Regions from separate parts of the Homo sapiens genome. Here region 2 is linked to region 1. Evidence: promoter capture Hi-C in 16 types of primary human blood cells and fetal thymus (Javierre and others, 2016). All regions are on one chromosome and are shown on one strand. The core of a region is centred on a gene start or on the middle of the fragment in contact, and the rest is flanking DNA. Distances in the headings are between cores, read along the strand shown.

Evidence for each region. The method cuts DNA at HindIII sites, captures the fragments that hold promoters and counts their contacts. A CHiCAGO score of 5 or more calls a contact.
Region 2: a contact is called between a fragment that was not itself captured here and the fragment with the promoter of SNX7 in region 1, in 1 of 17 cell types (neutrophils). The highest score is 5.3, in neutrophils.

What each region holds. Positions count from the first base shown.
Region 1 is chr1:98,658,519-98,665,689 of GRCh38, forward strand. It overlaps SNX7 (sorting nexin 7), which reads left to right and starts at 3,203. Exons shown (of 9, transcript NM_015976.5): 1 at 3,203-3,393. The coding sequence starts at 3,214. It overlaps SNX7-DT (SNX7 divergent transcript), which reads right to left and starts at 2,254. Exons shown (of 1, transcript NR_189290.1): 1 at 1,789-2,254. RefSeq lists silencers at 3,005-3,144, 3,165-3,284, 3,515-3,584. The HindIII fragment of the contact is 2,557 bases long and covers 2,438-4,994 here.
Region 2 is chr1:99,677,431-99,684,177 of GRCh38, forward strand. The region is part of intron 3 of PALMD (palmdelphin); the gene reads left to right. Among named protein-coding and RNA genes, the nearest start is that of PALMD, 35 kb to the left of the region's middle. The HindIII fragment of the contact is 2,899 bases long and covers 1,106-4,004 here.

The sequences.
Region 1 (7,171 bases), core at 1,953-4,452:
CTCCTGTGGATGTTAATCTTACTGCTTTTCTAGAAACTCCAGTGCTTGTTCTATGGCTTCACATACCATGTGGCCATGGTGGCAGGGATTTATGCTATGCATTGGCTCAAAAATAAGGATTTCCTCTCACTAAAGGATAATTGGCTGCTTCCATTGCTCAGCACTCAGCTTGCCACAGCAACTATGCAGGACCCTTACCCTGCCACACTGGAGGATGCCATGATTTGTCTTTAGTGGAAAAGTCAAATTGGCTTTGCTTTTTCTGCTCATCAGATTTCCCTCAACACGCTCGTCCATGAACTTATTGACTGGTCTATTCCTCAGTAGATTTTGCACATTATATTTTTTTCTAACTAGTTAAATCACTTTCTAGCAAAAGAAGTAAAGCCTTTGGGCAATGCCCATGGGGTAACTTGTCTCATCACAAAACCCATTACTAGAAACAGCAGACTTCATAGATGGTGGAATTGAATATTAAAGATCCAGTTATGGTCTGAAGAGATCCCATCTGGAAAGTATAAGGGAGAGAAAGCTTTTTGACAAGATGTATATTCATGAAACCATAAATTAATGTATGATATTATTTCTCTTAAACAGGACAGGAGTGGGTAGGGCTGCTCTTAATATTATACTTGCACTCCAAGTTTTGGACTATGCTGGTTTAAAGGCTTTAGTACCCAAGTAAGAATTCTTCCATTAAAAAACCTAGTGATAGGCTGGGCACGGTGGCTTAAGCCTGTAATCCCAGCACTTTGGGAGGCCGAGGCGGGTGGATCATGCAGTCAAGAGATCGAGACCATTCTGGCCAACATGGTGAAACCCTGTCTCTACTAAAAATACAAAAAATTAGCTGGGCGTGGTGGCGCACGCCTGTAGTCCCACCTACTCAGGAGGCTGAGGCAGGAGAATCGCTTGAACCCGGGAGGCGGAGGTTGCAGTGAGCAGAGATCACGCCACTGCACTCTAGCCTCGGCGAGGGAGTGAGACTCTGTCTCAAAAACAAACAAACAAACAAACAAAAAAACCCAGTGATAGTCCCACTTAATAGGAAGCTGAGACTACAGGAGGAATAGACATACTGCTTTGGAGTTGTACTAATAATGAGTAGGTTTGGGATTATCTCCCTTTGAGGGGCTGTGAACTGCATGCTCAGGTGCTCAAAGCATGGAGGTAGGGGGAGTATGTGAAGAAAGGTAATATTAATTGGACAGCCAAAGGGGCAAATTATAGTCACGTTTTCCCTACTCTTCTTCCTCATCCTACCCCTCTTCCTATTTTTCTTGTTTTTGGTTGACAAGCATCAATATGGCCTTTCTATGTTTAGAAAATTCTCTGCCTTAGGAATTTCCATGAAACTTGGCCAGATTGGCCAAGCACACATACTCTCCAGGGTTTTAATACTAGAAAAATCAACACAGAGAAACAGGGTGATGGAGACATTTTTGTGGCAGTAATAGCAGGGAAGTTCTCAGAGGTAGCTGTGGTACTGCTGCCAGGGAAAGCAACTGGAGTCCAGTAACATCAGTGTTAATGACAATATTGACACTGGTGAAGATGGTGTGGCAACCAGTATCAGGCAATGGTAGCAGCAATGTCTGTACCACTGGTTCTGTGGCCTTGCTTTTGGCTATAATCCAAGCTGTGCAGCCTTGCTTTATTCTGCCCATTTTCTGAGCCCATTCTCTATGGTTTCTAGCAATTCTGTGAGTTACAGCATTATTAAGAATTTCCTGGTTCAGATTGCAATTAGAAAACCTTGAATCTTCCTTACTAGTCAGAATAAGCTTATCAAGGAAAAAATAAAGTCTTTTAATAACTTATATTATTTACAGAAATTAGCAGAGAGCATTTTGAGAGTACATCTGATACTGTGGTTAATACATATCAGGATCCTCAACCTGAAAATGTTATCATTTACTAAGGAATGGAAAACTTGTACATGAAACAAATACAATCTGCAAGATGGAATAAAATTAAATGCTAAATTGAGAACAGACTGTCATTTAGAAAGTCTTTCTGAAAGAGATGGGACTATATTTAATTTCTGAAGGATGGGCAGGAGATGGCATTTAAAGTACAGAAATCATCAAGCACAGAAACAAATGTGGATACTCATGGGGCAGTGACCAACCTGACTGAAGGGTGGGTGCACGTCTGAAATCAATGGGAATACATTTGAATGATTAGGAGATAATATATTATTAAGGCCTTGCCTCTAATCAGAAATAAAGATATTCTCTATTTCCCCAAATAAGGAATTCTTACATAGAGCTTAATGTATTTAAAAATTTTTAAATGGGCCTACAGAAAAGAGGTGGGGCTGACGGAAGTAAATAAAACCTGAAGATAAATTAAAGAATATATCAACGTGGGCAAAATTTTCCATTAGTTTTGGAACTTAGTTTTGTTTTTGAATAATAAGCAGTTAAATAATTAAAGCTTTGCCTTGGCAATGCAAGGACTGAAGATTATTTCTCGGTGGCAATTTTCCAGACTTGCTAGTTGTCCTTGGGTCTTGGTAACATTCTGCTCATTAACTTCAGGAAGACGTCCAGGAGTAAAGATGCATTTGAAAGTGGCTGAAAATAGTTTGTAAAGCTCAGCTTTCCTGGCTCGACAGTGAAATGACCGCACAGGCCAGTCACTGGGTCAAAAATCAATTAACAAAACGGGAAGTTTTCATGTCTTTATTTTTACATTAGCTCGAAAATCACAACCAAGAAGAAAGGCAACCACTGAATACAGGAAATACAGTATTGTTATTGCTGTTTTTTTTTTTTCTCTTGGCAAGGCTGGGTCGGGTGCCTTCCAGCCTCGCTGTGGATCCCGCGAAGTGGACGGTTCGCTTCGTGGCTTCTTCCCAGACCCCGCCACTGCGGAAACCGTCACTCGGTGGCCCCCGACTGGGTCAATGCGAGGACGCCCACCTCCTACCTTTGAGTCTCTCCTCTTCTCCAGGGTACAGCCAACCCTTTCTCCAACGTAGCCGGAGTCCGAGAGTCCCAGTTCCGCCCCTCCAGCCCGCCCCAGGCCAGGTGGGGATGCGCCCGGCCCGGGCCAGCGCTGGTCCCGGCAGTTCCGCGTCTGCGCAGCGGGCGAGGGGCTGGAGCGGGGCCGGCCGGGGAGGTGCAGGAGACGTGGGAGCCAATGGGCACGCTCGGGGGAGCCGGGCTGGCGGCGGCGGTGGCGGCCGGCTGGGCGCGCACTCTCGGGATGGAGGGCGAGCGCCGGGCATCGCAGGCGCCCTCCTCGGGCCTCCCGGCCGGGGGCGCCAACGGGGAGAGCCCGGGGGGCGGCGCCCCCTTTCCGGGCAGCAGTGGCTCTTCCGCCCTGCTGCAGGCGGAGGTGCTGGATCTGGACGAGGACGAGGACGACCTGGAGGTGTTCAGCAAGGTGAGGGCGGCGGCGGCGAGTCCCGGGAAACTTCCAAGGCAACTCCGGGCGTTGCCAGCATTGCGCCGACGGCTGCCTCTGGCGCGCTTGCCCTCCCGGGGCGGTGGCTCTGAGCTGGGGACGAGTGAGGTCCCCCGGGCTGCTGGACCCCGCCTGCCAGCTCTGGCCGCACCCGGGGCCGCGTCGCCTCGGGGCCTCAAACCGCAGCCGCTCCCTCCTCCGCACTTTGACCTTCCGTTCGGCGGGGCTGTGGCTTAGTGGAGTCTGCAAAGTTGTGATTTGTTTTCCCTTTCTGCTTCTCTGACACAGACATCTTCCTCGCGGCAGCTCCCGAACCTGGGAGGCTGGTGGCTCAAAACCGCTCCCGCCAGCTGCTTTTCGGGCGAGGCCAGCCCTGAACTCTGGGAGAGCAGCCAAGTTTAGAGAAATTATTCTTAATTTAGTGTTGTTGCTTGTGGATTTGAGACTTGGGTGAGTCTCGGGTCTTGTGGGAATAGGTTCTAGGAAATCTCCCTGAACAGGAGAAAACGGTTGTTTCTAACAGGAAGCTCCTCCGCTGAGGAGCTAAGGATTTTTCAGATGGTCAGCTACTGCCACCCAACCCACAGCCAGTGCTTTCGTTTTTCCTTGCCCCCGGGAAATTTAGGACCAAAGGCTCTTATTTGCTTATTTTACTGTTGGAGGGAAATTGACTTGTGGGGGCTAGTGGTAGACTTTTGGTACGTGTAGACTGGTGTTTGTAATTTCTTAAAGGGTTTTAGAAAAGAAAAATACCTTTCTTGCAGGGAGGTTGAATGTCACTCCAGTTTCTCAAGTTGCTGCTGAGAGAAGACCTGAGTTCAGATCACAACGCTGTATTCATTACTAAGAAGCCTGTTCATTTTAACGTTACCTGGAGATATTAGGTAAAGCAAACGACCTACTTAACCACCGCATTTACTCTGGGAGAGCAAACCAAAGTTAGGAAGTGACCATGCATACTCTGACTCCAAAGAGGAGTATATAAAACTTATTTCTACTTCGGTTTAAATGGAATGATAGGCCCAGGTTTGTATTCCGAATATTTAAACAGACTATCACAGTTTTGTGCTCTTGACTTTTCTGTTAAGTAGTAAAACAATGGAATTATTTTATGTTTAGTTGTAAACTCTGCCTTTTTATATTCCACACATACTTCATGTTCAGATCAACGACAGTTGGCCAGTTGGTTATTTACTTTCTTTCCTTCTTTACATTGCTGTTTGGATAAGGAATATTAGTCTATGGTTATGCATTGTGAAACTTTGGGATGGGATGTTGGAAATAGCAATGGTGTATCAGAATCATCAGGGTTTCTTTCTGGTTTTTTTTTTTTTTTTTTTTTTTTTTTTTTTTTTTTTTTGTCGGGGCTGGACCCATCTGGCCTCAAGGGATTCTACCACCTCCAGCACCCAAAGGGTTTGGGATTACAGGCTTGAGCCACAGTGACTCGGATTGTTTTAAACTTGTCAAGTGGTTTCTCTTTCCCCAGATTCTAGGTGTTCTAGCTGACTCTTAAGAATCAATGTTTAAATGAGGTCCTCTTGTCAGAGGCAGATCCAAGGTGAAGCTAATGAAATTGAAGCTTCAGCGCTATTCGTTTGCTTAGACCTCTGGGCGTGTTGGGGGTTGCTGGAGTCGCAGATGTTCTAGGTGGGAAGGAAATGACAGGTCCCGACCAGAAGCATTTCTAAATAAGCATTTCTGGTGAATTGCCTAAAGCTCTCTCAGACTAAGGAATCTAGATCTCCATGGCTCCAATCATTTATTGAGATTTCTTTTCTCATTCTGAATAATGTGTTTTTCCACCTAATTTTGTATTCTTTTAAAAGGGGACCTTCCAAACTCTAAAAGCCCGTACACCTGGGTCCACCCTGCTTGTTAGTGTTAACTGCGCGTGTTGGATGCTTAGAAAAAGTTAAGAACAACTTCTGTAGAAACTGCCCACATAGATTAAGGCAAAGATATAATATTAGTGAAAATCCAACAAGAGTAGTTGGAAAAGTTTAAAATTAGCCACTTTCATCCATTTCAGTAAGTTGAATTTCTCAACCGTTATCTGTAGTTAAGCAAATTTAAGAAAGCCTGCTCCACGTGGCCTTCCCTTTCCACTACCTTCCTTGCCTGCTCCTCTATAAAACAAACACCACTGCTGTTCAGCCTATCCTAGGATGGAATCTCACAATTACTTATGAAGCAAACTGTCCTTCCCTTTTAGTAATTTGAGATTGGCAAACTACATATTTAATTTACATTCACCTTTATAGTCCCCTTATTCTCTTAGATTATTTGTGAATATGTGTCTGGTATACTCTTCCAGAAGCTTTTTAAAGAGTATGAATTTCCCCAGCACTTTGGGAGGCTGAGGCTAGCGGATCACTTGAAGTCAGGAGTTCACAACCAGCCTGGCCAACATAGTGAAACCCCATCTTTACTAAAAATATAAAAATTAGCCGGGTGTGGTGGTGGGAGCCTTTAATCCTAGCTAACCGGGAAGCTGAGGCAGGAGAATCTCTTGAACCCGGGATGCAGAGGTTGCAGTGGGCTGAGAGATCACGCCACTGCATTCCCACCTGAGTGACGGAGTGAGACTCTGTCTCAAAAGAAAAACAAAACAACTTCTTATTATTTTTTTTCCACAACGTATTACAAGTACATGGCAAATATACATTTTGTGTTAAGTATGCTTTAAAAAAAAGAAATACAAGATTTAGTTCTTGCTATCACAATCTTATACTCCAGGTGGGAAGATGTGACAAACTCTAAATGGCAATATAAATCAAGAGGGATGGAAAGTAAAACAAAGTTGTTCTGAATTTTCTTATAATCCAGTGAGAAGAAAATGATGCCAGACCTCAAGAGAATGCAGAGGACATTGATTTAAAAGAACGGGGATAGATGTTAGAAGGAAGAGAACAGAACCAATCATACAAAAACAGTAAAAATAAAAAAATAAAAAAGATACACAAATGGTAACAAGAGCCTAAGAATTATTTTAGAACTAGGTCACAATGAGATGAGGCTTCCAAAAAATTTAACTGGAGAAAAAGGGCCAGTTTCTTCACGTTTAAAGGAAAAAATCCTCCTCTTTGGGGAAAAACAATAAATTAAAATAAATTGCCTTTATTTTTATTGAATACTGTATAAAAGAAACAGCTGTGGATACAGTGTATGTGATTAGGCCACAATGAAGCACTGAGATGCTTATCTGGTACTCAGTAAATGATAGCTCTAATTGGCCTCTTTAAAGATATTCGGGATCATAAAAGTGAGATATATATCATCTAGGATAATCAGGGAACTTACAGGTGTAATCATCCTCATCACCACTAGTCATCTTTGAGAAATCATGAAATGCAATAATGGTTCCCTGAAACTAGAGATAGGTAAATATTGTTTTTAAAAATAATGGGCAAAATGGGAGTTCTGGAAGGTAGCGAACAGTAGGTTTCATTTCAATCTCCAAAAAAGCCATGAAATGAATTATTTAGTATGTTGTTTATACACACTTTGAAAAAAACATGATCAATAGAAGCTACAAGTTTTATAAGAATAATGAAAGACTTAAGATTGTGTTTATGGTAAATCAGAGTTATAATGACATGATTGAGCAAGGCTTTTGAAAAAAATCACTCATTTCTTCAGAAAAGGTTATTTATTTATTTGTTTATTTTTTGAGATGGAGTTTTGCTCTTATTATCTAGGTTGGAGTGCAGTGGCACAATCTTGGCTCACTGCAACCTCTGCCTCCCGGGTTCAA
Region 2 (6,747 bases), core at 1,305-3,804, 1.0 Mb after region 1:
AGAGGAGAGCATCAATGTTACATGAGGTTATCTAGAGGCCCTATTTCTTTCTGCCTTGTTGCTTTGCTACCTCCTAAGGGATGCCCTTGGCTATACAGTCAAAGCCAGCTCACTACCTCATCTGCATTCCACTTCAGGAAGGGAAGATAAATGGAGGACAAGCAGTTCAATTTTAATGGCATGACCTGACAGTTGCAGATGTCAATTCTGCTAATACCCTGTTGGCCAGAATTTACTCACATGGTACCATCTGAATGCCAAGGACACTGGGAAATGTAGTCCATAGCAAGGTAGCCAGGAAGTCGTATAAAACTCAGGGCATTCTATCACTAAAAAGAACAAAAGGAGAATGGACTGGGGATGGGGTGTGGAGAGAGGAAACGACAGGTTGTCAAAAAAGACTAGGATGTTCTTTCTGCTCACATTTACTAAATAGACATCATCCTCATACATATTATTACAACTCTTCCAATCATGCTGGATCACTGTTGAGATTTTCTGTTTAGATCAGTATTTGCAAGGACAAGTGTGTCCCTGAATCTATATTAGTACCATGCTTGCTAAAGTTGCAGATCAAACACCCAAATGGACCTGCTAGATTTTTGTCTTCCAATGGGGTTGTCACAGGTGGTCCTCCTCTCTCAAGCAAACTAAGAAGGAGAAAAGTGTAAGTCCTTTTCTATTTTTTTTTTTTTTTTGAGACTGTCTCACTCTGTCACCCAGGCTGGAGTGCCGTGGCATGAACTCACTGCGACCTCTGCCTCCCAGATTCAAGCGATTCTCCTGACTCAGCCTCCCGAGTACTGGGATTATATAGGTGCGTGCCACCATGCCCAGCTAATTTTTGTATTTTTAGTAGAGACAAGGTTTCACCATGTTGGCCGGGCTGGTCTCGAACTCCTGATCTCAAGTTATCCACTCGCCTCAGCCTCCCAAAGTGCTGGGATTACAGGCCTAAGCCACCACGCCTGGCCCAGTAACTCATCTTTACTAAGGAACTCCTCTACATCAAGCCCTGTTGTAGGGGTTTATGAACAATTACCTCAATTAATTCCTTAAGACAACCTTTAGTGAATACTACTATTATTCCCTAAATGAGAAAAAAAGCTTGGAGGGGTTAAATGATTAAGCCAAGTGTATTAGCTTTGAGATGGGTTCATTTTCTGTTTCCATGGGTAGAGCTGTAAAAAGTCTTTTTTTCCCCTGAGAAAGTGGGCTTTCACAAAAAAACTCACAAAATATAGGTAAACCACCAGCTGTTTCCTGTTCTCCCAAGATTTAGTGGGGAAGAAAGGGAAGAGAATCTCTAGGGGAGAATCAAGCTAGAATTGCTCACCACTCTAGGCAGAATTCAATACTTATCAGAGGCAAAGACACTCTGAGAGCCTGTGAGTCCCAAAAGAAACTGGATCCAGCTGGACATGGTGGCTCACACCTGTAATCCCAGCTTTTAGGGAGGCCAAGGCAAGGCGGGAGGATCTCTTGAGCCCAGGAGTTAAAGACAAGCCTGGGCAATACAGGGATACCTTGACTCTTAAAAAAAAAAAAAAATCCTTCTTTATCTAGCTTGGGGAATGTTGGGGGTGGGGGTTTGGTCCTAGCACTTCCATCGACCGGCCTCAGAGGCACATCAGTAGTGGCATAACACCTGCTGACTCAGGCCATCCCAGAGAAATAGCCATTGGACCCTCTCTTTAGGTGTAGTCCTGGCTTTTAATAAGAGAGTTTGGGCTACTGAAACGCAAGTAATTCATCAGTCCCTTCAAAGTATAGATAAGAGCCAGTCATAAACTTAATTTCATACCTAGCATTGGTAGTTACATTGAAACTGCAGTAATACAATCAAATTGCATTAGCCAGCTTTATATTTAAGACCTACTGCTTTAATTACTTTAAACAACACAGTCTTGTGTGGAAGCAAAGAAAGTCTTGCTATAAAGTGGCATTAGCTTAGGAAACCCCAGATTCTTTGAAGGAGACCGTTCTAAGAACTCCTACCAGAACCAAAGTCAAGCAGCCAAAAGGAAAAAAAAAGATAAAGCCCGGACTTCAATCCTTGTTAGATGGACTAACCCACTGAGCAGAAAAATCCCCAGTACAGAAAAATAACCCTAACGAAGATTAGGACAGAAATATTACCTTTGTATATAATGGGTCAACACGTTTACACACTCGTGGGCCCCAGCTATCATTTCAATCTTCACTTCCTTCATTATCATAGAAAGTAAAAAATCCCTTAATACTGCTGAGCTAAATGAATGTTGTGTCTAAGCTCCTAAGAATCAATTTTTTTAAGTTTTCTTTCTACAGTGGCTAATTGGAGAGGAGTTAAGAGTTCAGACTCTGTAAGTAAAGATCTGATTTCAAATTCCATCCTGCCTCAGGCTGCCTGTGAGACTCTGGGCCGGTTGCCTTTCTAGGTGCCCAGCTTGCTCATCTGTCAATTGGAACTAACAACAGTGCTCATGGGGGTTGCTGTAAGGACGAAATAGGCCAGTGCCTGGTGCAATGGAAATATGCAATATGTGTTAAATGTTATAAATGCTAACACATGAAGTACTGAAAGGTAGGATGATGACTTTTGAATTTTGGTTTGTGTGGTTTTTCCCCTCATGAGTTCCAATCTGTTTGGCCCCTAATGGCAAACTCTATCAGGTTGTGAGTCCTTGTTAACTCCACCAAAAGCTGAGAGAGATAAATGGACCCTTAGCAGCAGAAAAATTGCCTTCTGAAATAACCTCTTCCTGATGCATCCAGCATTTATGTGCTGTCCTTTTTTCCAAGACAAAAAATTGCATGTTGGAATTGGATTGGAGACATTATCTCGTGATGATTAAGGGAGGTTATTACTACAACAGTTCATGAAATGAAAGCTACCTGCTTTTACCCAGGGAGCTCTTGAAAATAACCCTCTTTTTCCCCAGTGAATAGGCAAGGAAAAGCAAGATTCCAATAATGGATAGCATTACAAATCCTTTTTCATGTACTCTGCTTATCTAAATTGGCACATGATGCCTGCCCACCATCTCTCAGAAATTGTGAGAGGTACTGACTCATCCATCAAGCCCCACCTAACAGCCTGGGAGGCACCAAGGAGGATATTTCTCTTTCTCTGCTGCCTGTTCCTCACCAAACTGAATCAGCATTTCAAGGAGCTCAATTCCCATTCTGAAAGGTAATACCTTCTAAAGATGGGGACGGCAGCACTTATGGAAATTCTAACCCATCAGCTGAAAGATAGGCATGTGAAAGTTAGAGAGTTACCCCACAGTAACCTCCCCAAAAGCTCTCCATTTGAAAAAATTTTAATTTTACATATATATGTATATACACCCACACATAAACACACATACATACACATATATGTGTGTATATCTATGTACATGCATACATGTATGTGTATATGTGTGTATATATATGCATATATATATATATTGCCTTCTGGAAAACCTCTTCCTGATGCATCCAGCATTTATGTGCTGTCCTTTTTTCCAAGACAAAAAATTGCATGTTGGAATTGGATTGGAGACATTATCTCATGATGATTAAGGGAGGTTATTCCTGCAACAGTTCATGAAATGAAAGCTACCTGCTTTTACCCAAGGAGCTCTTGAAAATAACCCTCTTTTTCCCCAGCAAATAGACTATATATATACATATATGTGTGTGTATATATGTGTGTGTGTGTGTGTGTGTGTGTGTGTGTATGTATATATATATATGTATAGAGCCCGGACTTTAATCCTTGTTAGATGGACTAACCCGCTGAGCAGAAAAATCCCCAGTACAACAAAATAACCCTAAGGAATATATATATTTTTTCTATAGTGGCTAATTGGAGAGGAGTAAGAGTTCAGACTCTGTAAGTAAATATCTGATTTCAAATTCCATCCTATATATTTTCCCAATACTTCATTTATACTTGCCAAATTTTTTCTCTTCCCCAAAACTACCTTTGGGAAGGGATTAGGAATGAGTCCCTAATTTAAGTCTTGCATTGTTTAAGCTTTAAATCAGGGCCGAATATTCTCTTAACTATGAATGGTCATTGAACAAGGAAAAACAACAGATACACAAACGTATATGTATCTTGGAATGGGAAGGAATAATGAGGAAAAAAATAAAAATATAAAAGAAATGGATATAAACAAATTCCTTATAAAGTACCTATCAAGAACTTACACTATACCAGGCATTCTTTTAGGTATCCAGGATTCCTCAACCTCAGCACTATTGACACTTTGGGCTAAATCATTCTTTGTTGTGAGGAAACTGTTCTGTGCATGACAGGACATTCAGCACCATCCCTGGCCTCTACCCACTAGATGTCAGCAGCACCCCTCACCCTCGCCAAGTTATGAGAAGCAAAACTGTCTCCAGACTTTGCCAAATATCCCCAGGGAACAAAATCGCCTCTGGTTACGAACCACTGTACTAGATACACAAAAATTGCCCTGCCTACTAGTTGCAATTTTTGTTTTATGCTCCTTAAGGACAGTCAGTCCTCAAAAACTCAGTGCATTATCTGGTGTACAGGTTGTCAAACCTCCTCTTCTCCATTGCTGGGCTACTGCTGACTTCTGACCAAGTGGAGGAGGTTGCGGGGGTTCTGGGAGCATCCAGTTCCTTACTCTCAGTTATGCTTTCTAAGTCTCTCATCATTTCCATTAGCATTCTGATCTTTTAGAAAGCTTTTCTAGAGCAGCAAATCTCTAACATTCATCTGATATTTATATTGTCCATAAATATTTGAAGTATCAAATCAACATACAAAAATAAGAAGTCAAGTTTTGCATTGAAGTGGAAATTTTAGGAAATGTTCTACATCAGTAGGCATCTCCTGTTAGAGGTTTGTGATTCTAAGTAATTAGTACCAAGATGTTTCCTAGTTATCCTTTTCAACTCAGAGTTGGCTGTGACTAAGGGATAAAGAATGGGAGGGAGGTGTTTGTTTATGTTTAGTTTTCACAAACATGTCATGATGTATTGTGAGACCACAGCGACTTATTAATGCAACTTTCATCCAGTGACTTGAAAACCTTCAAAAATATTCATTAACAGATACGCTGATGAGGTTTGCAGGCTTTCAACCTCATATTCTTACCATATTAGTCTAAAGAGATTCTTGGGATGAATCATATGGCATTACATTACCCACGGCTTTATCTTCAGAGAGAAACAACAACAAACACCAGTGCATTTCAAAATTCCCTAAGGTGTCATTGGCCAAGCAGACCAGGAGCTTTGTCTCTATGCCCCAGGAAAAGAAAGGGGCAGAGACAGGAAGAAACTAGCTGAAGTCATCGGGCTCATGCCTGTAATCCCAGCACTTTGAGAGGCCGAGGCAAGCAGATCACTTGAGGTCAGGAGTTTGAGACCAGCCTGGTCAACATGGTGAAAGCCCATCTCTACTAAAAATACAAAAATTAGCCAGGCGTCGTGGTGCACTCCTGTAGTCCCAGCTACTCAGGAGGCTGAGTCAGGAGAATCGCTCGAACCTGGGAGGCAGAGGTTACAGTGAGCCGAGATTGCACCACTACACTTCAGCCTGGGTGACAGAGCAAGACTCTGTCTCCAAAAAGAAAGAAGGAAAGAAAGAAAGAAAGAAAGAAAGAAAGAAAGAAAGAGAGAGAGAGAGAGAGAGAGAGAGAGAGAGAGAGAAAGAAAGAAAGAAAGAAAGAAAGAAAGAAAGAAAGAAAGAAAGAAAGAAAGAAAGAAAGAAAGAAAGAAAGAAAGAAACGAACACCCTATGAAGTTGTTAACATTGACCAGATCTCTAAATGTTGAATTGCTCCAGATTCAGGCCTTGGAATTCTTATCTCCTTCACTTTCTAGGGAAACTTATCCACTCCTGTGGTGATAAATACCAACTCCCAAATGTATATCTTCAAACCCAGACTTCTCTGAGCTCCAGTCTTGTATATCCAACTGTCTTCTCCATATCACACTTGATTGTCTCAAATTTAACACATCCCCCACAAATCCCCTTTCTTCTCTCTCCCAGATTTCTTCAGCCAATTGTATTGCATGTTTCCAATTATTCAGGTCACAAACAGTGGAATCACCTTGACATCTCCCTTTCTCTTATCCCCTGCATGTAATCATCAACAAATTCTGACAGCTCTTTCTGTCAAATATTTCTAGAATCCAACCACTTCTCACCCTTCTACTGGCAACCAACCTGGATTACACCATCTTCATCTAGATTTTTAGCACAATTGACCTCCATGTTTGCCCCATCCAGTCTATTTTCCACACAGCAGCCAGTGTAACTGTTTACATTTCAAGTCATAGCATGTTTCCTCTCTGTTCAAAATTCCAGTGGCTTCCCCAAAGCCCTTCCATGCACAAGGCCCTGCCTATCTGGTCATCTGCCTCCTCTCTGACTTCATTTCACCTTTCTACTCTCTTGGCTCTTCCTTCGCTCTCTATAGTTACTCTTCCATCTCTCTGGAGCACACTCCCTTTGAAACCCTCATGTTTCCCGCTCTCACTTCCTTCATGTCTCTGCTCAAATGACACTTTATCAGAGAAACTTCCCTCACCACACTGTGTGAAATAGTGCCCCCTCCTCAGGCTTTCTCTATATTCTTTATCTTGCTGTTTACAGCCCCTATCCTGCTTTTCTCATCAAAAATATTTTTTCTTCATAAATAAATGTGTTTATGTGTATATATATGTATGTACATACATCTGCAATATATACATATTTGTATTACACATTTATTAATGCAGGGATTGACAAAC